Regions from separate parts of the Homo sapiens genome. Here region 2 is linked to region 1. Evidence: promoter capture Hi-C in 16 types of primary human blood cells and fetal thymus (Javierre and others, 2016). All regions are on one chromosome and are shown on one strand. The core of a region is centred on a gene start or on the middle of the fragment in contact, and the rest is flanking DNA. Distances in the headings are between cores, read along the strand shown.

What was found. The method cuts DNA at HindIII sites, captures the fragments that hold promoters and counts their contacts. A CHiCAGO score of 5 or more calls a contact.
Region 2: a fragment that was not itself captured here is called in contact with the fragment with the promoter of MAGEA1 in region 1 in 1 of 17 cell types (activated CD4 T cells); the score reaches 5.9 in activated CD4 T cells.

Annotation. Positions count from the first base shown.
Region 1 is chrX:153,174,966-153,181,287 of GRCh38, forward strand. MAGEA1 (MAGE family member A1) reads left to right here and starts at 4,319. Exons shown (of 3, transcript NM_004988.5): 1 at 4,319-4,400. The HindIII fragment of the contact is 9,739 bases long and covers 1,090-6,322 here.
Region 2 is chrX:153,001,930-153,007,919 of GRCh38, forward strand. No RefSeq gene overlaps it. Among named protein-coding and RNA genes, the nearest start is that of PNMA5, 11 kb to the left of the region's middle. The HindIII fragment of the contact is 2,358 bases long and covers 863-3,220 here.

The DNA.
Region 1 (6,322 bases), core at 3,069-5,568:
GGACATCACAGTGTTGCATTCAGCAAAACCCAGACTATGGAAAACTGCAGAGAGCGCAAGATCTGTTTCTTTCCAAAAACAACAAAACAATGGCAGGGAAAGAGGTCCAGTGGAGGGGACCTACAGATGACGAAAGAGTTAAGGGTTATAACGACAAAAAAAATCACTGTATAATACCGTGTTTGGGCTCTCATTCAAATAAACATACTTTTACAAAGTGTAAGTCTGCCAGATAAGTGTGTAAATCAGTTAAACATCTGATAACCATTTATTTAATTTTTTTAGAAATGAAAACTGTATTGGGATTTTAGTTAACATAAAGTTCTTAACTTTTAGAAAAACATATTGAAGTATTTAGAGATGAAATGGAATGATGTCTTAGATTTGCTCCACATTATTCCAGCAGCTGAGATACAAGTAGGTGAGCCTCAAACTGGAACCAGATATGACATGTATTGAAGGTTGTTGATGCTGAGTGACAGGTGTTCTGGTTTCATTATGTTATTCTATTATTCAAGGTTTTTGAGGCGCTCCCTAAGAAAAAGTTTTTATCGCAAATTTCACACCGTTTAAAGTGAAATCCTATGTGAAACTGAACACTTTGCAGAAATAAAATAAATACATTTCCAAATTGGTCCAAAAAGGAAAAGAAAACTTAAACTATACAAACAGAAATGGTACAATATTCATAGCTCAAGCCACCCTCAAATGTTCCAGTCTAGGCAGTCTTGGAGGCCGATTGAACAAAATGATCAGGAAAAACTAACTACCATCTTACCTCAACTCTTCCAAGGCATACAAAATATAGACTATCGTTCAATTCCTTCTCCCAGACTTGCCCTCTTGGATACAAAAACCAGATGAGGACCACCCCCACCCATGGACAAAAACACATCAAGGAAGCTCTCATACATAACACCACATATCCTACATAAGTTAGTAGCATATTAAATGAACAAACAGGCTCTGCCCAAGGAAAGAAAATATGATTTATTGTTACAAAAAAGAAACGTATTTCATTGTAATTCCTTACATACAAAATGGAGAAGAAAAAGATAAGTGCTCATATCACTGGGTATAGGAAAAGCTTTTGAAGGAAATTCAATATGAGTTCAAAGTAAACATATTTAGTTAACTTCTTTTGAAAGAGAATTTCCATTTACTAAAATCAACAGCAAACATACATAAATGCTAAATGTTCGAGGACTTATTATTAAAGAGAGGAAAAATAATTAGATGTAAGGTATTATCTCCAGCTTTTAAATCAGTATTGAGACACAAAGTCAGAGCTATAAATATCAACATAAATAAGGAGTATGAATAGTGGAAAAAATATATAATGTTTAGTGATAACATGATCAGTCTTGAAAATTCAAAGGAGTAGGCATGTGGAAGATTCAAGTGAATGGGCCTTCAGAATGAGGTATACAACAGATTATAATAGCAAAATCAAAATCTTTGCCAGATGAAAGCAATCAGTAACTAGAACACTTAATATACAATATGCCTTTTTCAATAGCATCAAAATCCAAGAATTACCTGAAAAGAAGCCTAGTAAAAATGCAGAAGGTCTTTATAGAGGCAACAATCACAGTATACTGACAGATTCAAGTAAAAGGAGTTTGAAATTAATACATGAGGCTGGGTGCGATGGCTCATGCCTGTAATCCCAGTATTTTGGGAGGCTGAGGCGGGCAGATCACCTGAGGTCAGGAGTTCCAGACACACCTGGCCAATATGTTGAAACCCCATCTCTACTAAAAATACAAAAATTAGCTGGGTATGGTGCCATGCACCTGTAATCCCAGCTACTCAGTAGGCTAAGGTAGGAGAATCACTTGAACTTGGGAGGTGGAGATTACAGTGAGCCGAGATAGTGCCACTGCACTCCAGCCTGGTAGACAGAGGGAGATGCCATCTTTCTCTCTCTCTCTCTCTCTCTCTATATATATATATATATATATACACACACTCACACACACATATTATAGAGGAGCATAGCATATTCATTGATGAGAAAGAGAACACTGTAAAAATGTCAAATGTGCTTCAATTATGTACAATTATGTACAAATTATGTCTTACCTGTGGCTGCCAACGTGACAATCAAATTTGGGCTGCTGTTCTCTGCTTCACAAATCAACCCTGGAAAATTATAGAAGGGAAAAAGAAGGAGAAAGACACAATATCAGCAACAAAGTCTAAGCAACAAAATAGAGAAAGCCCTGGGTGATGCTGAAGATGGTTGAACTGGTAATTGTGTTTGACACTTGCAGTCTCGGTTGGAGGGGGGGTGGCAGCAGGGATACTGGGGAGGTCTGTACCCTGCCTAGACTGCAGTTGACAAAATGGTTACAATGAAAGTTTTCAAATTTCCACTTCACATCATTACACAGTCTGAGGCAGCTCCTCAAAACATGATGCTAGTAGCCCTAGGGCAACAGCAGGACACCAGTTAAACAGGGCTGGTTAAGACAGTATGGATCAAGAGTTCCACTAATAACAACCAGACACCAACATAGTGGGTGAGAAATTGTGTTTCAAAAAAAATTATTTCAACAGAACGTAAAGAATGGAAAAGAAGTAGAATAGGATATAAGAGTGAATCATGCATACTACTGGTAGGTATTCTTTCCTAGAAATAAATACATATATATATACAGCTACCTACATATATCCTTGGAAGATACGAAAAGTGTATTTCTTTTTCATTTTTTAAATTTTTTGAGACAGAGTGTCACTCTGTCGCGAGGCCCACGCTAGAGTTCAATGGCACGATCTCGCCTCACTGCAAACTCCGCCTCCAGGTGCAAGCGATTCTCACGCCTCAGCCTCCTGAGCACTACCACACCCAGCTAATTTTTGTATTTTGTGTAGAGACGGGGTTTCACCATGTTGGCCAGGCTGGTCTTGAACCCCTGACCTCAAGTGATCTGCCCGCCTCGGCCTCTCAAACTGTTGGGATTACAGGCGTGAACCACCGTGCCTGGGAGTAAAACATATTACTTTGAGGACAAAAGGTTTGCCAAGTGTAGCTCTGGCTGGAGAGAAGCCCCCGTGGGAAGGTGTGCGTCTTCTCCCAGAGGTCACTACAATCGCGGGAGCTGCCACTCTGCAGGGAGCACCTGGCCTGGGACCTGCAGCCATTCTCTGCAATGGGTGCAGCTGGGCAAATGCTCAGAGATGGCAGAAACAGCATCTCCCGCCCATGACTTCAACAAAGTGCCAGGAGCCGGGAGGAGGACCTTCCTGAGTGGGGACAGAGGGTCCACTCTCCCGACGTAGATGGGCCACAGAATGCAGCTCAGCCCCTCCTGTCAGCCCTGGAAGACCCTGGCAATGTTACCACGACCACACCCCCCCTCCCATTGCCACCTCATGGGACTGGGGGCCAGAGACTTGGTGGGAGAGAAGCAGACACAATCGGCAGAGAATATGGGTGTCCAGATTCTGCCAGGCATGAAAGTCAGGACCCTGAGGGGTGACCGAGGGTCCCCCAACCCCACGCCCAACCCCACTACCACCAACACGACGACTTAAGCCCCGGGGCACCACTGGCATCCCTCCCCCTACCACCCCCAATCCCTCCCTTTACGCCACCCATCCAAACATCTTCACGCTCACCCCCAGCCCAAGCCAGGCAGAATCCGGTTCCACCCCTGCTCTCAACCCAGGGAAGCCCAGGTGCCCAGATGTGACGCCACTGACTTGAGCATTAGTGGTTAGAGAGAAGCGAGGTTTTCGGTCTGAGGGGCGGCTTGAGATCGGTGGAGGGAAGCGGGCCCAGGCTCTGTAAGGAGGCAAGGTGACATGCTGAGGGAGGACTGAGGACCCACTTACCCCAGATAGAGGACCCCAAATAATCCCTTCATGCCAGTCCTGGACCATCTGGTGGTGGACTTCTCAGGCTGGGCCACCCCCAGCCCCCTTGCTGCTTAAACCACTGGGGACTCTGAAGTCAGAGCTCGTGTGATCAGGGAAGGGCTGCTTAGGAGAGGGCAGCGTCCAGGCTCTGCCAGACATCATGCTCAGGATTCTCAAGGAGGGCTGAGGGTCCCTAAGACCCCACTCCCGTGACCCAACCCCCACTCCAATGCTCACTCCCGTGACCCAACCCCCTCTTCATTGTCATTCCAACCCCCACCCCACATCCCCCACCCCATCCCTCAACCCTGATGCCCATCCGCCCAGCCATTCCACCCTCACCCCCACCCCCACCCCCACGCCCACTCCCACCCCCACCCAGGCAGGATCCGGTTCCCGCCAGGAAACATCCGGGTGCCCGGATGTGACGCCACTGACTTGCGCATTGTGGGGCAGAGAGAAGCGAGGTTTCCATTCTGAGGGACGGCGTAGAGTTCGGCCGAAGGAACCTGACCCAGGCTCTGTGAGGAGGCAAGGTGAGAGGCTGAGGGAGGACTGAGGACCCCGCCACTCCAAATAGAGAGCCCCAAATATTCCAGCGCCGCCCTTGCTGCCAGCCCTGGCCCACCCGCGGGAAGACGTCTCAGCCTGGGCTGCCCCCAGACCCCTGCTCCAAAAGCCTTGAGAGACACCAGGTTCTTCTCCCCAAGCTCTGGAATCAGAGGTTGCTGTGACCAGGGCAGGACTGGTTAGGAGAGGGCAGGGCACAGGCTCTGCCAGGCATCAAGATCAGCACCCAAGAGGGAGGGCTGTGGGCCCCCAAGACTGCACTCCAATCCCCACTCCCACCCCATTCGCATTCCCATTCCCCACCCAACCCCCATCTCCTCAGCTACACCTCCACCCCCATCCCTACTCCTACTCCGTCACCTGACCACCACCCTCCAGCCCCAGCACCAGCCCCAACCCTTCTGCCACCTCACCCTCACTGCCCCCAACCCCACCCTCATCTCTCTCATGTGCCCCACTCCCATCGCCTCCCCCATTCTGGCAGAATCCGGTTTGCCCCTGCTCTCAACCCAGGGAAGCCCTGGATGGCCCGATGTGAAACCACTGACTTGAACCTCACAGATCTGAGAGAAGCCAGGTTCATTTAATGGTTCTGAGGGGCGGCTTGAGATCCACTGAGGGGAGTGGTTTTAGGCTCTGTGAGGAGGCAAGGTGAGATGCTGAGGGAGGACTGAGGAGGCACACACCCCAGGTAGATGGCCCCAAAATGATCCAGTACCACCCCTGCTGCCAGCCCTGGACCACCCGGCCAGGACAGATGTCTCAGCTGGACCACCCCCCGTCCCGTCCCACTGCCACTTAACCCACAGGGCAATCTGTAGTCATAGCTTATGTGACCGGGGCAGGGTTGGTCAGGAGAGGGCAGGGCCCAGGCATCAAGGTCCAGGCATCCGCCCGGCATTAGGGTCAGGACCCTGGGAGGGAACTGAGGGTTCCCCACCCACACCTGTCTCCTCATCTCCACCGCCACCCCACTCACATTCCCATACCTACCCCCTACCCCCAACCTCATCTTGTCAGAATCCCTGCTGTCAACCCACGGAAGCCACGGGAATGGCGGCCAGGCACTCGGATCTTGACGTCCCCATCCAGGGCTGATGGAGGGAAGGGGCTTGAACAGGGCCTCAGGGGAGCAGAGGGAGGGCCCTACTGCGAGATGAGGGAGGCCTCAGAGGACCCAGCACCCTAGGACACCGCACCCCTGTCTGAGACTGAGGCTGCCACTTCTGGCCTCAAGAATCAGAATGATGGGGACTCAGATTAGCATGGGGGTGGGACCCAGGCCTGCAAGGCTTACGCGGAGGAAGAGGAGGGAGGACTCAGGGGACCTTGGAATCCAGATCAGTGTGGACCTCGGCCCTGAGAGGTCCAGGGCACGGTGGCCACATATGGCCCATATTTCCTGCATCTTTGAGGTGACAGGACAGAGCTGTGGTCTGAGAAGTGGGGCCTCAGGTCAACAGAGGGAGGAGTTCCAGGATCCATATGGCCCAAGATGTGCCCCCTTCATGAGGACTGGGGATATCCCCGGCTCAGAAAGAAGGGACTCCACACAGTCTGGCTGTCCCCTTTTAGTAGCTCTAGGGGGACCAGATCAGGGATGGCGGTATGTTCCATTCTCACTTGTACCACAGGCAGGAAGTTGGGGGGCCCTCAGGGAGATGGGGTCTTGGGGTAAAGGGGGGATGTCTACTCATGTCAGGGAATTGGGGGTTGAGGAAGCACAGGCGCTGGCAGGAATAAAGATGAGTGAGACAGACAAGGCTATTGGAATCCTCACCCCAGAACCAAAGGGGTCAGCCCTGGACACCTCACCCAGGATGTGGCTTCTTTTCACTCCTGTTTCCAGATCTGGGGCAGGTGAGGACCTCATTCTCAGAGGGTGACT
Region 2 (5,990 bases), core at 792-3,291, 180 kb before region 1:
GACACCCCTGGAAACAAGAAAGGCCTCCAGAAAGGCGATCCATAGATGGGGCCCAAGCATTGTGCATATTGTAAACAAGAGGACCATTGGAAAAGGACTTCCTGAGTTTAAAAAGGCAATCCCAGGGGAAAGAAGAAAAGGCTTTACTTTTGTCAGAGGTATCCAAGAGAGTGATGGGGTCTCAGGGGGTACAATAGGTGGATGAGGCTGCATCCCCATCTCCTGCCTGGAACCCTGGGTAACTCTTTGGTGGGAAAAAGACAAGTTGATTTCTTGATTGATATTGGAGCCACGTACTCCTTCCTTGACATGGTTTGGCTCTGTGTCCCCACCTAAATCTCATCTTGTAGCTCCCATATTTCCCATGTGTTGTGGGAAGGACCTGGTGGGAAATAATTGAATCATGGGGTTTTCCCTGCACAAGCTCTCTCTCTCTTTGCCTGCTGCCATCTCTTTGCCTGCTGCCATCCATGTAAGACGTGACTTGCTCCTCTTTGCCTTCTGCCATGATTGTGAGGCTTCCCCAGCCATGTGCAATAGTAAATCCATTAAACCTCTTTCTTTTGTAAATTGCCCAGTCTTGGGTATGTCTTCATCAGCAGCATGAAAACAGACTAATACAGTCCTAAATATCAAAATAACAAAATTGTCACCCAATACTATGACTATCATGGGGTGTCTGGAACACTTATGAAAAAGTCCTTTTTACAACCTATGGACTACCAAGTGGGCACAGTCAAACTAAAGCATAGTTTCTTGTACATGCCAGAATGCCCAATCCCTTCACTGGGACAGGACTTGTTAACTAAGTTAATTGCCACAGTAACCTTTGCTTTGGGAAAATTGAGGTGCCACCAGAACAAGCTTGTGCACTCCCAAATGCCCTTTATGACCACAGAGCAGAAAAACACACCATCAATATTATGGAGAACATCTTAAAGCAGATAAGCCCAGATGCTTGGGCTGATGGGAGGCTGGGAAGGGCTAAGACTGCTTGTGTTAAGGCCATTCTTGCATTGCTATAAAGAAATACCTGAGACTAGGTATTTATAAAGAAATGAGCTTTAATGGGCTCAGTGTTCTGCAGGTTGTACAGGAAGCATAGTGCTGGCATTTGCTCAGCTTCTGGGGAGGCCTCAGGGAGCTTTTACTCATGATGGAAGGCAAAGCAGGAGCAGGCACATCATATGGCAAAAGCAGGAGCAAGAGAGAGATGGAGGAGAGAGGGTGCCACACAATTTTAAACAACCAGATCTTGTGAGAACTCACTATCATGAGGACAGCACCAAGCCATGAGAGATCCACCCCCATGATCCAAACCTTTCCCATCAGGCCCAACCTTCAACATTGGGGATTGTATCTCAACATGAGATTTGGAGGGCATGTCCAAACTATGTCATTCTCCCCTGCCCCCACAAATCTCATGTCCTTCTCATACTGTGAAATACAATAATCTCATCCCAATAGTCCTCCAAAGTCTTAACACATTCCAGCATTAATGAAACTGCCTTTGCAAAATTATAACTGAAGAAATTATGACAGTGAAAGAAATCAGACCTAACCAACCCCATATTGCTTCTAACCTTTGTCCTTGTTCATTACTGGGCATAGGCCAAACTAACTTTGGGAAGGAATTCAATTTATGGTTTGACTCTGAAACAAAATTGATAACAGACATTTTCCAAAAAGACCCCATTCTTGCCTGGGGACAAGTATGCCTTTGCAGGACTAACAAATTAGATAGAAGATTAGAAATTACATTTTAGGGGACAGGTAGCCTCTGGCTACTAGAGTCTGAACCTCCCCAAATTGCTCCTGAGGATAACATCAATGCTGTAAAACCTAAGATCAGTGCTTGAGGTATTTTGCAGCCCCTGCGCTTGATGGATCAGCTGACACCACCTAGACCAGTAATCTGGCTCAATCAGTTCTTCCATCCCATCCAGGAATAGAAAACAGCAAGAAAAACTCACTTCAACTCTCCATGATTCCATGTCCATCCTGACCAATCAGCACTTCCCACTTCTCAAGCCCCTACCCACCAAATTATCTTTAAAAACTCTGATCCCCGAATAGTCGGGGAGACTTATTTGAGTAATAATAAAACTTTAGTCTCCTGCATAGCTGGCTCTGTGTGAATTACTTTCTCCATTGCAATTCCCCTGTCTTGATAAATAAGCTGTGTCTAGGCAGCAGGCAAGGTGAACCCCTTGGGCGGTTGCACAACTCAAAAGTCCCAAGTCCCCAGTCCAAAGTCTTATCTGGAAATAAGTTCTTTCCACCTAGAAGCCTGTAAAATCAAAATGGGTTATTTACTTCCAAGATACAATGGAGATACAAGCACTGGGTAAACATTCTCATTCCAAAAGAAAGGTGCTACAGGCGCCACCCAAGTCTGAAACTCAGCAGGGCAGTCATTGAATCTTAAAACTTCAAAACAGTCTCCTTTGACTCCATGTCTCACATCCAGGGCATGCTTCTGCAGGGGATGGGCTCCCAGGGCCTTGGGCAGCTCTGACCCTGTGGCTTTGCAGGGCTCAGCTTCTGAGCCTGCTCTCACAAGCTGGCATTGAGTACCTGTAACTTTTCCTGGTGCAGAGTGCAAGCTGCTAGTGGATCTACCATTCTGGCATTTGGAGGACAGTGAACTCTTCCCACAGCTCCACTACCCAGTGCCCCATTGGAGACTCTGTGGGCGGTGCTTAAACCCTACATTTTCCCCCTGCACTGCCCTAGTGGAGGTTCTCTGTGAGGGCTCCACCCCTGCAGGAAGTGTCTGGCTGGAGACCCAGGCTTTTCCATGCATCTTCTGAAATCTAAGCGGAGGCTGTCAAGCCTTCTTCACCCTTATACTCTGTACACCTGCAGGCTTAACACCATGTTGAAACTGCCAAGGCTTATGGCTTGTGCCCTCTGGAGTGGAGGCCCAAACTGTACTTGGGCCCATTTGAGCTGGAGCTAGAGCCAGAGCAGCTGGGATGCAAGGAGCAGTGTCACAAGGCTGAGCAGGGCAGTGGCATCCCAGGCCTGACCCTTGAAACCATTCTTCCCTCCTAAGCCTTTTGGCCTGTGATGGGAGGGGCTGCCTCAGAGATCTCCGAAATGCCTTCAAGGTCTTTCCCCCATTGTCTTGGCTATCAGGACATTGTTTGCTTTTAATCAGGCTAATATCTCTAGAAAGTGGTTACACCACAGCCTTCTTGGATTCTTCCCCTGAAAAAGCTTTTTCTTTCTTTGCCAGATGGCTAGGCTGCAAATTTTCCAAACTTTATGCTCTGCTTCTTCTATAAATATAATTCCCAACTTTAAGTTATTTCTTTGTTCCTGCATCTGCGCATAGGCTGTTACAAGCAGTTAGACCACCTCTTGAACACTTTGATGCGTAAGAATTTTCTCTGTCAGATACCCTAGGTTGTCACTCTTAAGTTCAAACTTCCACAGATCCCTAGGGCATGACAGAATACAGCCAAGTTCTTTGCTAAGGCATTACAAGGATGACCTTTGCTTCAGTTACCAAAAAGTTCCTCATTTCCATTTGAGACTTTGTCAGCCTGGACTTCACTATCCATATCACTATCAGTATTTTTGTTACCACCATCTAGCCAGTCCCTAAGAATTTCCAAGATTTCTTGGAACTTTTTTCCTGTCTTCTTCTGAGACCTCCAAACCCTTCCAACCTCTGCCTGTTACCCAGCTCCAAAGCTGCTTCCACATTTTCAGATATCTATAGCAATGCCCAACTCCTCAGTACCAATTTTCTGTGTTAGACCATTGTTGTGTTGCTACAAAGAAATACTGGACACTGGGTAATTTATAAAGAAAATAGGTTTAATTGGCTCACAGTTCTGCATGCTGTACAGGAAGCATGGTGTCAGCATCCACTTGGCTTCTGGGGAGGCCTCAGGCAGCTTTAATTCATGTTTGAAGCTAAAGTGGAAGCAGGTGAGAGCAGGAGCAAGAGAGAGAGAGAGCAGGGAAGGTGCCACACACTTCTAAACATCCAGGTCTTGTGAGAACTTACTCACTATCACAAAACAGCACCAAGCCATGAGGATTCCACCCCATGACCCAAACACCTCCCACCAGGCCCCACCTCCAACACTGGGGATTACATCTCAACATGAGATTTGTAGGGGACATCCAAACTATATCCCTGCTATACCAGTATAGATGAAGCTAAAACCAGAAGCAAAAACTCCAAACTCAAAACTATATCCCCTAAAGGAACAGATTAAAAGGGGGATTTGGCCTTTAATCATTGCCTTTCCAGAGTTCCAGCTCATCAGGCCATGTAGCTCTCCATACAATACTCCCATCTTACCTATTAAAAAGCTAAATAGTAGAGGAGGTTACCTAGTTGTTACAAACCCTTACACCTTGCTGACTATCTTGTCAGGAGACTTCTGTTAGTTCACAGTATTAGACTTAAAAGATGCATTTTTCCTCCATTCCCCAAGTCTTGAATCTCAAGAACTCTTTGCTTTGGAATGGGAAGATCCAGAAACAAAGAGCAAGCACCAATGTTGCTGGACTGTTGCCACAAGGATTCAAAAACTCCCTCATCTTTTTTGGGGAACTCCAGTTACAAGAGGGGGCTATCTTCCAATATGTAGATGGCACATTGATAGCAAATAAAGTAAAGTTCAGATGAAAATAACATAACCATCTTAAATTTCCTGGCTGAGTGAAGGTACAAGGTATCCCAAAAGAAAGTACAAACTTCTCAACCCTTGGAAAGGTATCTAGGATTTGACTTAACTAAAGGACAGAGGAATTTACTCCCCAACTGCTGGGGAGCAGTAGCCATAGCTATGCCATCCACCAAAAGACAATTATGAGGGTTTTTAGGAATGGCTGAATTTTGCCTTATATAGATTCCTAATTTCAGGTTGATGGAAAAAATCTCTGTATAGCATGCTGAAGGGAATGAAGGATGGGCCTCTAGTATGGTCTGCCAAATCTCAAAAAGGCTTTCAGTTGGTAAAAGAGAAATTGTTAGCAACTCTGGCTTTAGGGATGCCAGACTTCAAAAAGCCGTTGGATCTATTTGTGCACAAAAGACAAGGAATATGGTTGCAAGTGTTTACCCAAAATCTAGGAGACACCAAGCATCCTGTATAGTACTTTTCAGACACTTTGGACATCATAACCCAGGGGTAGCCAGTGTGCCATAGGGCAGTGACCACCACCTGTAACTTACTGCAAGAAGCTGAAAAATTCACCTTGGGGGCAGTCCACAATCTTGCATACCCCACATTGTGTGTTACCATTATTAGAGTAGAAAGGTGGTTATTGGTTTACTTCAGGCCAGATGTGGAAAAAAAACCAAGGAATTTTCTAGGATAATCCTAATGTGATGCTAAAAACGGTCCACCTTAAACCCCACGACTCTGTTTCCAAACCCATCAGTGGAACCTAGGCATAACTGTTTACAAATTATTGAACAAGTCTATTCCAGCCACTCTGACAAACAGGTGTGCCCTTGGGAAAAACAGATCTATAAATGTCCACGGATATAAGCAGCTTCATGGACCAGGGAAACTGGAAAGTGGGATATGCAGTGATAATTTTGCAAGATATTATAAGAAGCTGAAGCACTGCCACCAGGTAACGTCAGCCCAGAATGCCTCAACCGTGCTCTTCACTGAGGAAAAATTAAGAAGATAAACATTTACACTGATTCAAAGAACTCTTCTATGGTGCATGCACATGGGGCTATTTGGGAAGAAAGAGGGCTATTATTAACATTGGGAAAAAAAGGACTCAAACATGTGCAGGAAATTTTAAAATTACTAAAAATGGTGTTAGAACCTAAAGAAGTGGCAATTGTAAGAATTAAAGAAAGAGGAAACAAACATGAAACGTGGCTGACAGTTAAAGACAGGTTTTCTTTAGATAAAACCTGAGAGGTGCTCCTGGCCAATTTTGGTCAAGAGCACTTTCTCTTACAGACTAAGAGTATATATTGGTTTTACGGTGAGGTGGCTTAT